4 separate regions of the Homo sapiens genome follow, and all the other regions are linked to region 1. The links are contacts of gene promoters, found by promoter capture Hi-C in blood cells and fetal thymus (Javierre and others, 2016). All regions are on one chromosome and are shown on one strand. Each heading gives the region's core, a stretch centred on a gene start or on the middle of the fragment in contact. The rest is flanking DNA. Distances are from core to core; before and after follow the strand shown.

The links. The method cuts DNA at HindIII sites, captures the fragments that hold promoters and counts their contacts. A CHiCAGO score of 5 or more calls a contact.
Region 2: a fragment that was not itself captured here is called in contact with the fragment with the promoter of DGKH in region 1 in 3 of 17 cell types (M0 macrophages, M1 macrophages and M2 macrophages); the score reaches 5.7 in M0 macrophages.
Region 3: a fragment that was not itself captured here is called in contact with the fragment with the promoter of DGKH in region 1 in 2 of 17 cell types (M1 macrophages and M0 macrophages); the score reaches 6.8 in M1 macrophages.
Region 4: a fragment that was not itself captured here is called in contact with the fragment with the promoter of DGKH in region 1 in 1 of 17 cell types (M1 macrophages); the score reaches 6.0 in M1 macrophages.

What each region holds. Positions count from the first base shown.
Region 1 is chr13:42,047,053-42,050,754 of GRCh38, reverse strand. It overlaps DGKH (diacylglycerol kinase eta), which reads right to left and starts at 2,107. Exons shown (of 30, transcript NM_178009.5): 1 at 1,790-2,107. The coding sequence starts at 1,981. RefSeq lists a silencer at 1,801-2,330 and an enhancer at 2,871-2,960. The HindIII fragment of the contact is 8,345 bases long and covers 991-3,702 here.
Region 2 is chr13:41,810,749-41,814,450 of GRCh38, reverse strand. VWA8 (von Willebrand factor A domain containing 8) reads left to right here. Exons shown (of 45, transcript NM_015058.2): 17 at 3,111-3,226. Among named protein-coding and RNA genes, the nearest start is that of VWA8, 150 kb to the left of the region's middle. RefSeq lists an enhancer at 1,490-1,539. The HindIII fragment of the contact is 2,010 bases long and covers 719-2,728 here.
Region 3 is chr13:41,865,684-41,869,385 of GRCh38, reverse strand. VWA8 (von Willebrand factor A domain containing 8) reads left to right here. Exons shown (of 45, transcript NM_015058.2): 10 at 909-1,040; 11 at 3,350-3,484; 12 at 3,573-3,650. Among named protein-coding and RNA genes, the nearest start is that of VWA8, 94 kb to the left of the region's middle. The HindIII fragment of the contact is 1,112 bases long and covers 999-2,110 here.
Region 4 is chr13:41,890,662-41,894,363 of GRCh38, reverse strand. VWA8 (von Willebrand factor A domain containing 8) reads left to right here. Exons shown (of 45, transcript NM_015058.2): 5 at 2,777-2,944. Among named protein-coding and RNA genes, the nearest start is that of VWA8, 69 kb to the left of the region's middle. The HindIII fragment of the contact is 1,246 bases long and covers 1,140-2,385 here.

The sequences.
Region 1 (3,702 bases), core at 858-3,357:
TTCTCCCAAAGTGCAGGGATTACAGGCGTGAGCCACCATGCCCGGCCCCTATACAATTTTTTTTTTTACCTGCCATTTTGCCCATCATTAACACAGTTTATGAACTTTTTTCAGAATTAAGATTTGAAATATTAAAAACACTTTTAGGAAAGTCCCTAACTTTGTAAAAGCCTTAATCTTAAAAAACACATTAAATGCCATATTCTTAATTTACTACAAACTCAAAAACGTCACTATTAAAAGGAGTTACAAGATGTACTCTTAACTAAAGTGACTGAATCCCTAACTCTTTAGTAAGTGCATCTTGTCAACAGTTGTTCTTGTGTGTTGTTCTTACACACATGTATTTCAGAAAATAAGGAGGCAGGCTACTACAAACATTAATCCACTAGCTTTTTTTTTGTCGCTCAGGCTGGAGTGCAGTGGCACAATCTCTGCTCGCCACAACCTCCGCCTCCCGGGTTCAAACGATTCTCCTGCCTCAGCCTCCCGAGGAGCTGGGATCTCAGGTGCACGCCTCAAAGCCCAGCTAATTTTTTTATTTTTAATAGACATGGGGTTTCACCATGTTGGCCAGGCTGGTCTGGAACTCCTGGCCTCAAGTGATCTGCCTGCCTTGGCCTCCCAAAGTGCTGGGATTACAGGCATGAGCCACCGTTACCGGCCTCCACAGGCACTGAATAAAAATTATGTTTCCAAATAGGAGTTCATTGACCTTAGGGAAAATTTTTCATAAAAATAACTGTAGAATGAATTTTTTGCAAATTTATTTTTAAAAACGGTACCCCAAGCCAATGATTTTGTGGTTCCGTTTTCAATATCCTCGTTAAATTTCCCTACTGATAACAGACTCTCTCTGTGAAGATTTTTAAATTACAATGAAAATTAGAATACATAAAAATCCTTTAATATCCATAAGCATTTGCTTTGGTATGTTCATGATCAAATTAAAAATTAACTTTGAGACCTCACAGGTCGACAGCACAAGCTTCATTAACAAGAGTAACACACCATCCTAATGTCCACACAGCACAGAGGTAACTTCTCATTATTAAAAAGAACCATGGACGCATGGTTCTGAACCCTGCCTGCACTTGGCGGGAACCTGCGACACGAAAGCCTGGCCAGCCCTTGGAGCCATGCAGGGTGCGGTTAAGCCGCGAACACCATGTCCCACTTGCCTGCCTCGGGGCTTCTGCCTTCCAGACCGCAGCAGGAGGCAGAGGGGCAGGAAAGGCTGACCGGTGTCACCTTCCACCCACCCTCTGAGTGGGCCTAAGTGGGAAAGCAGCAGGGCTCACTGCAGCGCAGGCTGGTTGGCCAGCACATGCGCACGCTCCCCCGAACGGCAGGGAAGAAAAATTGAAACTCTCCTTTTAAGTTCCCTAAGTAGGAACTCGCGACTGCGCGTCAGCTTTTTCCCACGCTCCCGCCGAGCCGCGGGTTCCCTGCACCCGCCTCTGCCAGTCGAACTCCCTGGGAGCCCAGGCTCGCAGCCTCCCGCGCAGCCGCCGGGAATCCGTCCCGCAGCACCGCGGTCCAGCGCCCCCGGGCCCCGCCCCACCCCTCCCCGCCCCGCCCGCGCCCCAGGCCCCGCCCCGCCTCACCGTCTCACCATCCCCGCCTTCCCCGCCTTCCCCGCCTTCCCCGCCTTCCCCGCCTTCCCCGCCTTCCCCGCCTTCCCCGCCTTCCCCGCCTTCCCGGGATCGCCCGGCGCGTTCCAGCGCCCCCGCGCCCTCTCCACCTCCCGCTTTCCACGCGGCCCTCAGGCCCGCCTCCTCCGCCCTACCTTGGTCCGGATCTGCCCCGAGGTAGACACTTTGCGGATCAGTTTCTGGGGTCCCTCTTGCTCCGCTTCGCTGTCAGACGAATCCTCTCCCGGCCCCGCCGAGGCAGCGGCGGAGGTGACCGCGGCGCCGGCTCCGGCGGCCGCTCCTCCAGCGGCGCCCGGAGGGTGGTGCTGGCCTCCGGCCCCTGCCATCCTCTCCGACTCCTGCGGGGACACAGCACCGCCCGGCGGGGGCGGCGGCGTTGGTCAGCGGGTGGGCTCTGCCCGAGCGGAGCCCGGAACCCCGTGCCCGGCCGCCGCCGCCATCTTCCGTTTCCCTAGCTACCCCCGCGAGGTAAGGGTCGCCCGGGGCAGGCGCCCTCCAGGCAGGGGTCCACCCGGCTCCTCCGCTCGGTTCCCGCCGGAGCGGCGGCCACGGTGGGACGCAGAGGTAACGGACCCCCGCCCGCCTCGGACCCCTGCGCACCCAGCCTCGGATAGGACCAGCGCGGGTAGAGAGGATGGGGTGACAGGGTTTGGAGCAACATCTCTTCCACTCCCTTACGGTCTGGGTCCCTAGGATGGACAGGAGGGTGGGGGAGGCAGGAAACCTCTGCAGCCCACCCCGTAGTGGCGATGCCCGCACACCCCCTCTCACTTCTGGACAGCAGGGGCAACGCCGATCCCTGGGGAAGAATGGGAACCTGGAGCTTCCTCCCAGCACCCTTGGGTGCACCCGCCACCTCCTGAACCCCGAATCTCTCCAGAGACACTTGGGCCTCGCCGCGCGGTTCCAGCTGAATAAAAGTCCCCTCTGCCACCAAGACAGTCGGGGGCTGCCCCTCGTCGGTTTCCCCACCCCCAGCCCCACTCCGAGGACCGTACCTCTCCCGCCTCCGCCAGGGCCGTCGGGTCCCCTCAGCTCTCCTGACGGCGGCGTTCAGTTTCTGGCCCACCCCCACCCCCATCCGGCGCACACGGAAGAGAAGAGCATTTTCCGGGAGGTTCAGCTCCGCTCTGAGAACTTTTCGTTCAGAAAGAGCGATCCCCTTCGGCTAACAGGAAACTGGGAAGGGCGTGGAGAAAGCGCAGAAACAAGAGACTACACGCAGCCCAAGACGACAGAACGCACAAGAAGTGTCTAAGCTGAAGCGCTAACCGAGATTGCCTGGAAGAAAACAATACACTCGAGCCATGCGAACACCAGTACCCGAGACAAAAAGCCTTGGAAGTCCTGGCAGAGCCACTCCCTAGCCCGGACTAGAGCAGGAGGAAGTGGGATCAACAGGCTGTAGCCACCGCGCACAACTCCCCTGCAAGCTGGCTGCGCGGGCACTTGGGAACCGCGGACTGGCAGCGGGTTGTGCACGCTCAACGTCAAAGAAGCCTCACAGGTGTGAGGGGGCTGCGGTGAGGGGGCTGCGAGAGAAGACATTAAAACGACAGATCCCTCTTGTCATCCAAAGAGAACACCAAACTGGTGTTAGCTATATTTTTAAATAGGACAAAAAGTCCCTGCCAGACTGTGGAGTCTCTCCACCTGGAGAAAGCATTCAATCTCTGTTATGTTCATGCCTTTCAGTACCATTCCTTTCGTATTTTTTCAGTTGACATGACCTTTAAGGTTCCTCCAAACTAAGGTTCTAATTTTTTTTTTTAACTTGCAGTCTTACTCCCAACAAGAAATTTGATATATTAGAGCTAACAGTTCTAAGAAGTTTTAAGAAATAGTATGCAATCCCAATACTGGACATCACACTGTAAATTAAATTCATTAAAATGTAAAATGTGTTTAGTTCAAATATTTAAAGACAGGAGACTGCTGCTATGTAATAATAACAGAGAGGCTATTTCTGCAGCTTCTGTTGTCTCCTTTAGGAAAGGAAGGAGTTGGGCAAAATGAATTTTAAGAACGCTTAGAACTCTACAAATAT
Region 2 (3,702 bases), core at 474-2,973, 240 kb after region 1:
TCAAATGTCTCTGCCTTAGATAATGCCTAGAATGTGCTTTCCCTACATCCAGTTGTCCCTTAGTTTCTCTCTTCTCTTAAGTCTCTCTCAGCCCCCTTAGGCAGCAGTAACTAATATCTCCAATCTGCTTTCATGACACTTGACATATATTTGCAAGTTGTATTATATATTGTTGACCTATTGCAGTTGTATTATAATTTACTTTTATTTCCCCAGTTGCTATTTGAGCTCCTTGAGACTAAGTCCCATTTCCCAGCCTGCGGCCTGGCACATAATAGACACTTAAATCTTTGGTGAATTAATGAATAAATTGATTAATTAAAATTTTATTAACAGATTGTCCCTAGAGTTTTCTCTCCTTTAGAACATGCTACATTTTCATTCTTTTATAAAAATGAAGAATAGAAAAATAATGTTTAATAATTTCTGATGAGAACCTTTATGTTTTTAAGCTGAAGTATTACTAATCATGTTAATATGAACAACCCCTTCGAGGTGTACTCTTAAACTGTATAACCATGGTAACTAGGGGAATGTGCTTCATATCTTCACCGCCCCCCTTTTTTTTTGCAAGATAAAACTGCAGTTAGAAATTTGATATAAATGTTAAATACATTAGGAATTTTTAAAGTATACTCTCAATTTTTAATTGATAATAATGTGAGAGCAGAGATTACCAAACCCTTTATTCAACACTTAAATGGCTCAACACAAAGCTTATCTCTCATTTTCTCAACCCTGGTTATTACTGCAAAGCATTTTGGTGCTTTCAACTAGAAGAACTGGAGAATTGGTGTTCAAATATATGAGCATTCCTTATTGATGACTGGAATGAAATGTGAAGCCTGAATTCAGTGTCATGCTTAGAATGAGATTAGAATGTTATACCCTATGGTTTAACAGGACTCTTATAAGAATCCTCTGGTTAGAGTCATTTGTCAAATATTTTTTATGATTAAAATATGAATTTTTCATGGTCCTAGGTATTAAAAATGGGAATTTCTGAGTTATATTTGACTTTTGATATCAGTCACATTGCCTGAATTTTATCCTCAATACATGTTTCTTTCTCATAGCAAGTCAGTTGCCAAGTTTGTTGTATCCTACCTCTCCATTCTTGTTGCCATAACCTTACTGTAGGACTTTTTCCTTTTATAGGCAGATTATTGAAGTAGCTTTCTGTTTCCTGTCTCAGTTCTCTCTGTCCTTCATCCACTTTCTATGCTGCTGCTGATTTAAATTAGGAAGTAGGCTAGTAATAACCTGATTTGAAAATCATGTTACGACTTTACACATAGCAGAATCCTAGTGCCTTTAAGAATAAAGCCAAACCCGTCAGAGTGTCATTCATAGGTCTTTGTTGTTTGAGAGCAAGCCTTCCAGCAGGACCTTCTAGTAAAGCTGGTCTCATTTCCTCATGTTCTACTTGTGGTTCCATTACTTTTGCTTTCATGCCTTTGATGAGAGGATTTCTCATGCCCATTTGAATATTTTAACTGCCTATAACAGCTGTCTACTGTTCCACTTATTTTAGCATTGAAGTATATACTATTTTGAATTGTAATTTATGATTTATTATATTTGAATATTGTCTCCATATCTGGAATGCAAATTAATTGAAAACAAGAATGGACCAATGTCTGCTTGTAATTGAGTTCTTTGAAACTTAGAATGTGTTTTTTAATAGAAGAAAGGATATGTGGTGGTCATGCTTCCAACCTAATTCCCAAAGGAAATATAATACTAATGTTGTAGCTGAGATAGAATACTAACAGCAAACCAATATCTTATGGAGATGTGAAATACACAAGGAAGGATAAATAAATTATTTTTTTCTTCTTTGGGACATACGGAGATGACCTTAGGTGGAACATTAAAACAAGCAAATGTGCAGTGTGTCTTTGACATTCTCCCCTCATCCATTCTGAACCCTTTGTTAATTTCATAGAGTCCTCTTTTCTAGGCCCTTGAGTTCTCAGGGCCACTTTACTGCCCTTATCACCCTCTGTGACATTTCATACTGACCTGCCTTGCCCTCCCAAAGGTCCAGTTGCTTCAAAAGTGCTTCTGTCCTGTGGTTTTCAGTGATAATCACTGTCTTCTAATGCTGCTGATCTAAGTTAGGAATTAGGCCAGTAATAATCTCATTTACTAAATATATGCTAATATGTAGGTCCCATCACCTTTCTCTGCTGGGTTTTTTGTTTTCATTTTGAAGAGGCTGATTTTTAAATAACAGTTGTTGCCATTCGTTGAGCACCCATATGTGTGTGACATGTGCTAAGCACTTTAGAATCATTTTCTAATTTAACCTTCATAACAACCTTAAAGGTGAGGGCATTACTATTGCCATTTTAAAGTTGAGGGAACTGAGCCTTGGAAAGGTTAAGTAATTTGCCAAGGTAACACAGCTAATAAATAGGATACCGACTTATCTGATTCAAAAGCCTATAAACTTTACCATTATGTTATGCTGCCTGCCAAAAGAATTTCAACAAATATTTATTGAGTACTGACCATGTCCTGAGTTCTGTACTAGCAACTCTATTCGTGGAATTTTGGGAAATGTAATATAGCAAAGTGAAAGTATTCTGACAGCATAGGGGAAGGATTCAAAACAGCAAGCTGCAGCACAAGTGACAAATTGGTTGACACCTCTGTGGCCAACAGCCTAAATTGTTTACAACTCTTTTTGGCTATTTTAGAAACCACCGATTTGCTTAAAGCTTTAAACATTTCCGTGGTATCTTAACACCTTGGCTTTGTGTAAGGAGAAAAAGTGAACAGTCAATCATACAGCCTAAGTCCAGTGTGACCTTTGTTATGTAACATCCTTCCCCCATTGCCCCTCCCATCTCCAACTTAGCACAATTAAAATACATTAATTAAATTTAATTGATAAATACTTTAGATTTTTTAAAAACTATCTTCAAGGATGTTTTAAGTGTAAATTGGTTTCTGTTTATTTTGATTTGTAATTAATTAACAGCACATACTTTAAGTTTGGCCTTACCCCTTCAGTAATAATGAATTCTGCTGTGATATCCATCTAAAGGGACTTTAGCAAGTTGAAACAAGACTCTTAACACAATGTATTTGTCTTTTGATAGGCACAATCATTAGCGGCATCACTTTCTACCAGACAACTGTTGCGAATTTCTCGTCGGCTGTCACAGTATCCTAATGAAAATCTTCACAGTGCTGTTACTAAAGCCTGCCTTTCCAGGTAAACATATTCTTTCTCACTGCGTGTAAGTTTCTGGATCTTCACTAAAACTATAAGATAAGTTTAACTGATGGTGCATATTCCCAATTCTTCAAAATATATTGGTCTGAATGTAGAGCTATTTCAGCCTTGCCTTCACTGATTAGAACTTATTTAATACAACATATTATCTTTTAAAATTAATTTTTGGTCCCAGCATCACCAGAAGCAGATGTTGGTACTATGCTTCCTGTACAGCCTGCAGAACCATGAGCCAAAATAAAACCTCTTTTATTTATTAAAAATAAAATAAAATAAAATAAATTTTTATCCTTAATTTGTATGGGTACATGGTCAGTATATATTTATGGGGTACATGAGATACTTTGATACAGGCATAGAATATGTAATAATCACAACAGGGTGAATGCCATATCTATCACCCTAAGCATTTATCATTTCTTTGCATTATGAACGTTCCAATTATACTTTTAGTT
Region 3 (3,702 bases), core at 305-2,804, 180 kb after region 1:
CTGGGATTACAGGCATGAGCTACTGTGCCTGGTGGTTCTAGCCTTTTAAATCCAGTTCAACAAATATTGAGACCCCTATAGTGTAGAAAGCACTGTACCATATGCTGTGGAAAATTGTTATAATAATTTTAGTTAAGCTATTCACATAGCTGACAGCAGAATGATGGCCAAGAAGTTCTGTTTTCATGAATTTCAGGTAACACATTAACTTCGATTGATTTAAAGAATAAACCAATATGGGCCTATTTCAGCATATTTTGAAGGGTCTCATCATCTCCTTCTAGGAAGTTGATTGTCAAGAAATGTAAACTATGAACTTCTACCAGGTCAGGAATTCAGTGATTCCATTTCTTGTCATTTAGTAAATTTTAGGGACTATTTTAATATGATCTTTAATAATTATTGTAAGTAGAATGGTATTAGTAGGAATAGAAAAAAATTTTCGTTAACTTTTTTTAACCTCTACTTTTTTTTTTTCCTTTTTTTTTTTTTTTTTTTGAGACGGAGTCTTGCCGTTTTGCCCATGCTGGAGTGCAGTGGCGCGATCTCGGCTCACTGCAAGCTCCACCTCCCGGGTTCACGCCATTCTCTTGCCTCAGCCTCCCGAGTAGCTGGTACTACAGGTGCCCGCCACCACGCCCAGCTAATTTTTTTTCTATTTTTTAGTAGAGACGGGGTTTCACCGTGTTAGCCAGGATGGTCTCGATCTCCTGACCCTCTGATCCGCCCGCCTTGGCCTCCCAAAGTTCTGGGATTAACAGGCCTGAGCCACCGCCCTTGGCCTAACCTCTACTTTTATATAATAATATAAAATGGATTTCACTTGTAATTAAGGTGTAATCTGTCAGATAGCCAATGTTAATGCTAAAATGAAAAGTAAATTGCATGATTTTCTTGTAATTTTACAGCGCTTTGAACTTCAAGATTCAGGAAGCTCTCTACTTCCTAAAGAGATTGTAAAAGTAGAGAAGATGATGGAAAACCATGTGTCCCAAGCTTCTGTGACCATCCGGATTGCAGATAAAGAGGTGACCATTAAGGTAATTAATCACAGGTTTATTCTTTCTATGATATACCTTATTCTGCCTGTTTTTATGACCTAAATTGGGTTTATGATCTCCTTGTAAGTCTTCTCTCTTGATAGTACTGCTTCTGTCGGTATCTATATGTCTATGTCTCCAGAGTCATGTGTGCTTATAAACTGGAAAAGTTCAGGAGAAACATAGGGAAAGCCTTTCATCAAAAATTCAAAGTTGACCTGTGGGAAAATCAAGTCACAGGCTGATTACTGACAGCATTTTGTGCTATGAGTCCTTGGTAAGAAATAGTGTTTTCAAACATTTGAGCTGCTACAGAGACCTATTTTCAAGTAAAATCTTTCTTAGCTATGTGAAACGGTTTAAAAAGGATCTGCTCTGGTTGAATTGTTTTTAGAGAGGGAAATAATATTTGGTCATAGAGCTCCATCTGCATGTATATATGTTATATATATATCAGCTCCTTCTATATATATCTATATGTGTATATATACACACATTTTATGGAGTCTTACTATATTGCCCAGGCTTGTTTTGAATTCCTGAGCTCAAACAATACTCCTGCCTTAGCCTCCTGAGTAGCTGGGACTACAGGCACATGCCACTGTGCCCAGCTCATGATAAACTTTTTTGTTTTAATATTTGATATTATTAATATTAATTCATGTTACTGTACTTATTCATTGAACTGAATATTGATTATATCCACCATGAGCTAGGTTCCATATTATGAGTTTACTGTGTACTATTTACTGTATTTGTCTCTGCATATATTACACGATTTAAATCCCGCAAGATCCATTAAGGTAAGTTTTATTATCTCCATTTTGTAGATTAGAAAACTGAGATGTAAAGAGGTTAATGATTCACCCAGAGACAGCAGCTAGGAGATGGCACAGCTGGGATTTCTAGACAGGGACAGTTCCCCACTATACTCTCTGTTTTGTTCAGATGAATGGTTCATCTAGCTGATAGTTTAGGATAGAGGCAGACGAGTTAAGACTGCATTGGAATGACTGGGGATATGGAGAAGAAAGTAATACTGGGATTCAGGAGACGGAATAGGGAAAGCTTCAGAGAGAAGATGAAGCTTGAGCTAAGCCTGCAAGAATAATATAGGATTTTTCAAGTGGCTCAGGAGTGGATAGAACATTTTTGGCAGTTTAAACAATATGTTCAGAAGCATGAGGTATGAACAAGACTTCATTATTTGCTTCCCTTTGGTAATGGCTTTTTAACCTCATTGCCTCTAGTCTCTTCCAGTTAGCTTTCCATGTTGATACCAGGTTAAATTCTTAAATGCAAATCTGATCCTGTCACTTCCAAACTTAGAATTCTTTGGTTCGTGTGGTATATAACATGATCCAGCCCAGAGTCCTCATCAGAACATGGCTCCTTGGGAACTAATAGTGGAGGATAAATAATAAAAGGGGAAGACAAAAAATAAAATGAGAAGTAGATGTAAAAGATGGGAAGAGAGAATATGTGAACAGATGCCTCTCAGTGGTAAACTAAGATAAACCTGAAAAGGATTTGTGGACTTGACTTTTAGAAATCAGGAGGTCATTGGTGACTTTAGAGATTCCAGTGGACTAACATTAAATTCTGTGCTTACAACTAGAATTTTGGGAAAAAAATTTATTCTCCAGTAGTAATATCTTTACTATAAGTTATAAATAGCATTAAGATGACATGATTTTTATGAATACATCTGATAATGTGGGACTTTAATTTTAGGGAAATAATTGATTTGGAAGATTTGTAATAATGATCATCAGATCTATTAAATGAAAAAATAGTTGCTGCTCTATTGAAATATCAAAAACAGTAAAGAATTAAATTGAGCAAGCTATTAGTTGGAGGCTTTTAAGTGGCAGTTATATACTTTAAGTTACTGATATTTTGAGAAAAACATGCATGTTTTACACACACACACACACATATACACACACACACGCGCACACACACACACATATATATATATATATATTTTTTTTTTTGGGACAGAGTCTCGCTCTGTTGCCCAGGCTGCAGTGCAGTGGCGCAATCTTGGCTCACTGCAACCTCCGCCTCCTGGGTTCAAGCGATTCTCCTACCTCAGCCCCCTGAGTAGTTGGGATCACAGTTGCGCACCACCATGCCCAGCTAATTTTTTTGTATTTTTGTAGAGATGGGGTTTCACCATATTGGCCAGGCTGGTCTCGAACTACTAACCTCAAGTGATCTGCCTGCCTTGGCCTCCCAAAGTGTTGGGATTATAGGCGTGAGCCACCACATCTGGCCATGTTATATTGACCTCTCTTTAATTATAGGTGCCAGCCGGGACCAGGCTATTAAGTCAACCTTGTGCGTCAGACCGTTTCATACAGACTTTGAGCCATAAGCAGCTACAGGCTGAAATGATGCAGTCTCACATGGTTAAAGATATATGTTTAATTGGAGGAAAGGTAAGAATGACAGTCTCACTGCAGACTTTTAGTTTCCTGGCTTTTGGTTATTTTGACTTACCTCTTGAATAATTTTTTCCATTTGTAGGGTTGTGGAAAAACAGTGATCGCTAAGAACTTTGCCGATACCTTAGGATACAACATAGAACCTATTATGCTCTATCAGGTACAGTGTTCATTTTTAGCTGCACTTGGACTATAAGCATATATGCTTAGGC
Region 4 (3,702 bases), core at 513-3,012, 160 kb after region 1:
AGTACTGCCATTAGAGTAGATGGAAAAAAAACCTTGTGTATTTAGCTTCTGTTTTTGATCTCTCTGCATAGCTTGTTCTGAATTCCTTTGAAGAGATTCAATGCATAGCAGACCACAGTACACCTGAGGTGAATGAAAGTGGAGCTGCAGTGTTTGTTGTTGTCCTATGTTGTCAAGACTTTGCTTTTTGTGGCCCATAGATGGTGAACCATTACATTTTGATCTGTATATTTCTAGTTTTATCTCAAAGAATGTGGGTTTTCATCCCTATGGAGTTTTTAAAAAGTCAAATGCAATATTTAGTCTGTCGTATAAGAAAGATTGCTAAAAGTTTTAGATTTCTTAAAATAATATTACCCTAGATTATGATAACAATTAATTTCTTTTTTGTTCTGAGCTGTGCTTTCTTGAAGTAAATATATTTTTGCGAGCAAAAGCTTAATTGAAACCTTAACTGAAATGTGAATTTTTATAAGAAGTAGTTTGTATTCTTGCTCTGTCGCCCAGGCTGGAGTGTAGGGGTGCGATCTTGGCTCATTGCAACCTCTGCCTCCTGGGTTCAAGTCATTCTCCTGCCTCAGCCTCCCACGTAGCTAGGATTACAGGCGCCCGCCACCACACTTGGCTAATTTTTGTATTTCTAGTAGAGACGGGGTTTCACAATATTGGCCAGGCTGGTCTTGAACTTCTGACCTTGTGATCCACCCTCCTCAGCCTCCCAAAATGCTGAGATTATAGGCATGAGCCACTGAGCCCGGCCAATATTTTGACTTTTAATATCCCAGAATCTATTTCTACGACTTTGTCCTTTATACAGCTAGCAAAAATGAGATTCTTTTTTTTGTTGTTGTTCTTTAGAAACTACTAAGTCACTTCTACCCATGCTTTTTTTTTTTTTTTTAAATAAAGCTTCTAGAACAAGATGGCTACTCTGGTAGAAGAGAATTAAAATATTGCAGTAATGATATATTTGAGGGATTATTCATGAAATGATCTTAAAATGGATGATTCTCTTGAGTCTAATATGGCTTTCATAAAGTTTATCATTTTACAACATTATGTAGACACTTGAAATAAACTAAGCTCTACTATACAGTGCAAAATTCAACAGTGTATTAAAAGAGGATAGTATGCAAGCTTGATTAAGCAATGCCTCTTTTCTACACTTGGAAAATCAGTACATTGCTACTCCAGAAATTTATTTGGATATTAAGTCTTAAAAAAATAGAGATATGTTTTCCCCTCATCAAACATTTAGATCCTTTTTTTGGACAATTACTATAGGGAAAATTAAATTTTAAGTGAGGGGTCAGTATAAGTAAAGACATTTTTCTGGTAAAGCAGTATGGTATGTACATGTGTAGAAGGAGATAACCAGTTTATTGTCACAGAAATACCACATGTGAGGCAACTAATATCAGGAGATGGTGTTGGAGAGGTAGGTAGATGCTGCATTGTGATAGGCTAATATGCCAAATTAAGGAGCTTGGACTATTGGGAGGTGATCTGAGAGGTAAGGAGAGCTTGAACTAGGGAAGGGGTAGAAAGGGATGAGTTCAAGAAACATCAAGGGCTCTGACCTGGGTCAATGGTGCTCACACCCCAGATAGAAAATAAAGAAGAGAAGCAGGTTTGGAGAAAATAGGATATTTTCAGTTTTGTACAAGGGACCTGAGGTGCTCATGGGGTCTGAGGGACCCCATATGAGGTACTAATGAGGGGGAGTTTCAGAACCCCAAGATTCTGGGGGGTCATTAGCATAAAGGTGGTAGTTGGAACTATGTGATTGAATAAGATTTTCAGGGAGGTCCTAGTAGGGTAAGAAGAGCTGTGTGTTAAGGATGTAATTCTGGCCATCATCTACATTTAATGGACAGGCACAGAAGACAAAACAATTTTCCTAGGACAATGCAGTGCCATGGAGACTAATGAAGGCGAGTTTTAAGGGAGGGAATAACAGTATAAATTTAGCACCATTAATCCTCTGTCTGTGGTTGAATGTGCAGAAGAAACATGACAGGTTTTCCTTTTTTAGCAGAACATGAAGGATTTTGACAAAAAGTAGTTTTCTATGTTATTAAGGACCTATAGTTAAAGGAAAATATTTTTTTCATATCTATAGTAATTTTTTTGTATTACAGTTTACTTTATTTCCTAATTTTCTCCATTACTAATTTTCTTAAAATTTATTGGAAGACTTGTAGTACTGGTTAAGTCAGTCTGCTATTGGCCAATGTAAAATCTGATTCTTTTTCTGTTTCTAAGTGTGTAATGTTGTCAGCATCATCACACAAAACCTCAATTTATTTGGATGATGACTTATGTTTACAAATGTTACAGTCTCCAAGCCTTCTCACCTAGCTTTTTTGATCCTTACAAGAAGCTTGTGGGATAGGTAGGGCAGATAACTGTCTTCATTTTTCTTTTCCAGTTGTGGAATCTGTGCCCTTGTTTAATTATGTTCCTTGTTCATAGATAGCTGTTAGTTTTTTATTTCATTGGGTATATAATCTAAAATATCAAGGCTGAAAGGAACTTCAGCGATCCTCTTTTTTCAATCCCTTTATTTTACAAACGAATAAACAGGCCCAAAGAGGTAAAATCACTTTCCTAAGATCATATAGGCAGAAAAAGCAAAACAAGATCTGGAACTCAGCTTTATTGATTTCTGGTCCCTATAACAAGAACTGCAACTTAAATTTGAATTACAAGTAATGTTAGGCCAAGCTCTGCAACTTCAGTATTCTCATTTTGCTTTTACGTTTCTTGGAAATAGTGTGCAGTTCGTGCAGCCACAGAAGGCAGAACTCTCATTTTGGAAGGTTTGGAAAAGGCAGAGAGGAATGTTTTGCCTGTTTTGAACAACTTGCTGGAAAACAGAGAGATGCAGCTTGAAGATGGACGCTTCCTGATGTCTGCTGAGCGTTACGACAAACTTCTCCGAGTAAGAAAAGAAAATCCTGTTGCTTTGTCTTTGCTGTCAAGCTATGGGCAGTGCCATTTTATTGTGTAAGACATGGCTCTGTTGGAATCAGGACAGATGTTCAGATGGCCCTTATCTTGGGTAAATTGCTAGAGTCATGAATTTACAGCTTTACAACACTCTTCTGTTTTAGACTTTGTCAAAACACCTCCCAGATTTTTACTGTCTTTTTTTTTTTTGGTCAGTCTAATAACTATTCTCTTTTCCATTTTTTTTCCTATTTTTTCTTCTTCTCTTTCTTCCTCTTTTCCCATCTCCTTTTTTCCCCCCTTTCTTTCTCTTAACAACTATTTAATAAAAGGCTAATGACTTCTAGATAGTGCTGGTCACCAGGGATACAAAGCTGAAGAAAGTCCAGTTTTTAGCTTCAGGAAGCTAAAGGTCCAGTAGGTATTGACAGAAATGAATAAAATATTTAAAGGATATCCTGTTCTGATGACCCAAGCCACCAGCATCACATGCCGAGGTTGCTGTAGGAACCTCCTAACTGCACTCCCTGCTTCCATCCTTCCTTCCTGACACTGGTCTCAACACAGCAGTCAGTGATCGCCTTAACAGTGCATCCATTTGGGGGCATTCCTATGCTCTAACCCTGATAGCTTCTTGTTCCACTCAGAGTAAAATTCAAAAGTTTTTACAATGCAATACAGTGCCCTTTGTTGTCTGCTTCCCTCTACTAGAATATAAGTTTCACAAGGGCAGGGATTTTTGTAACTGGT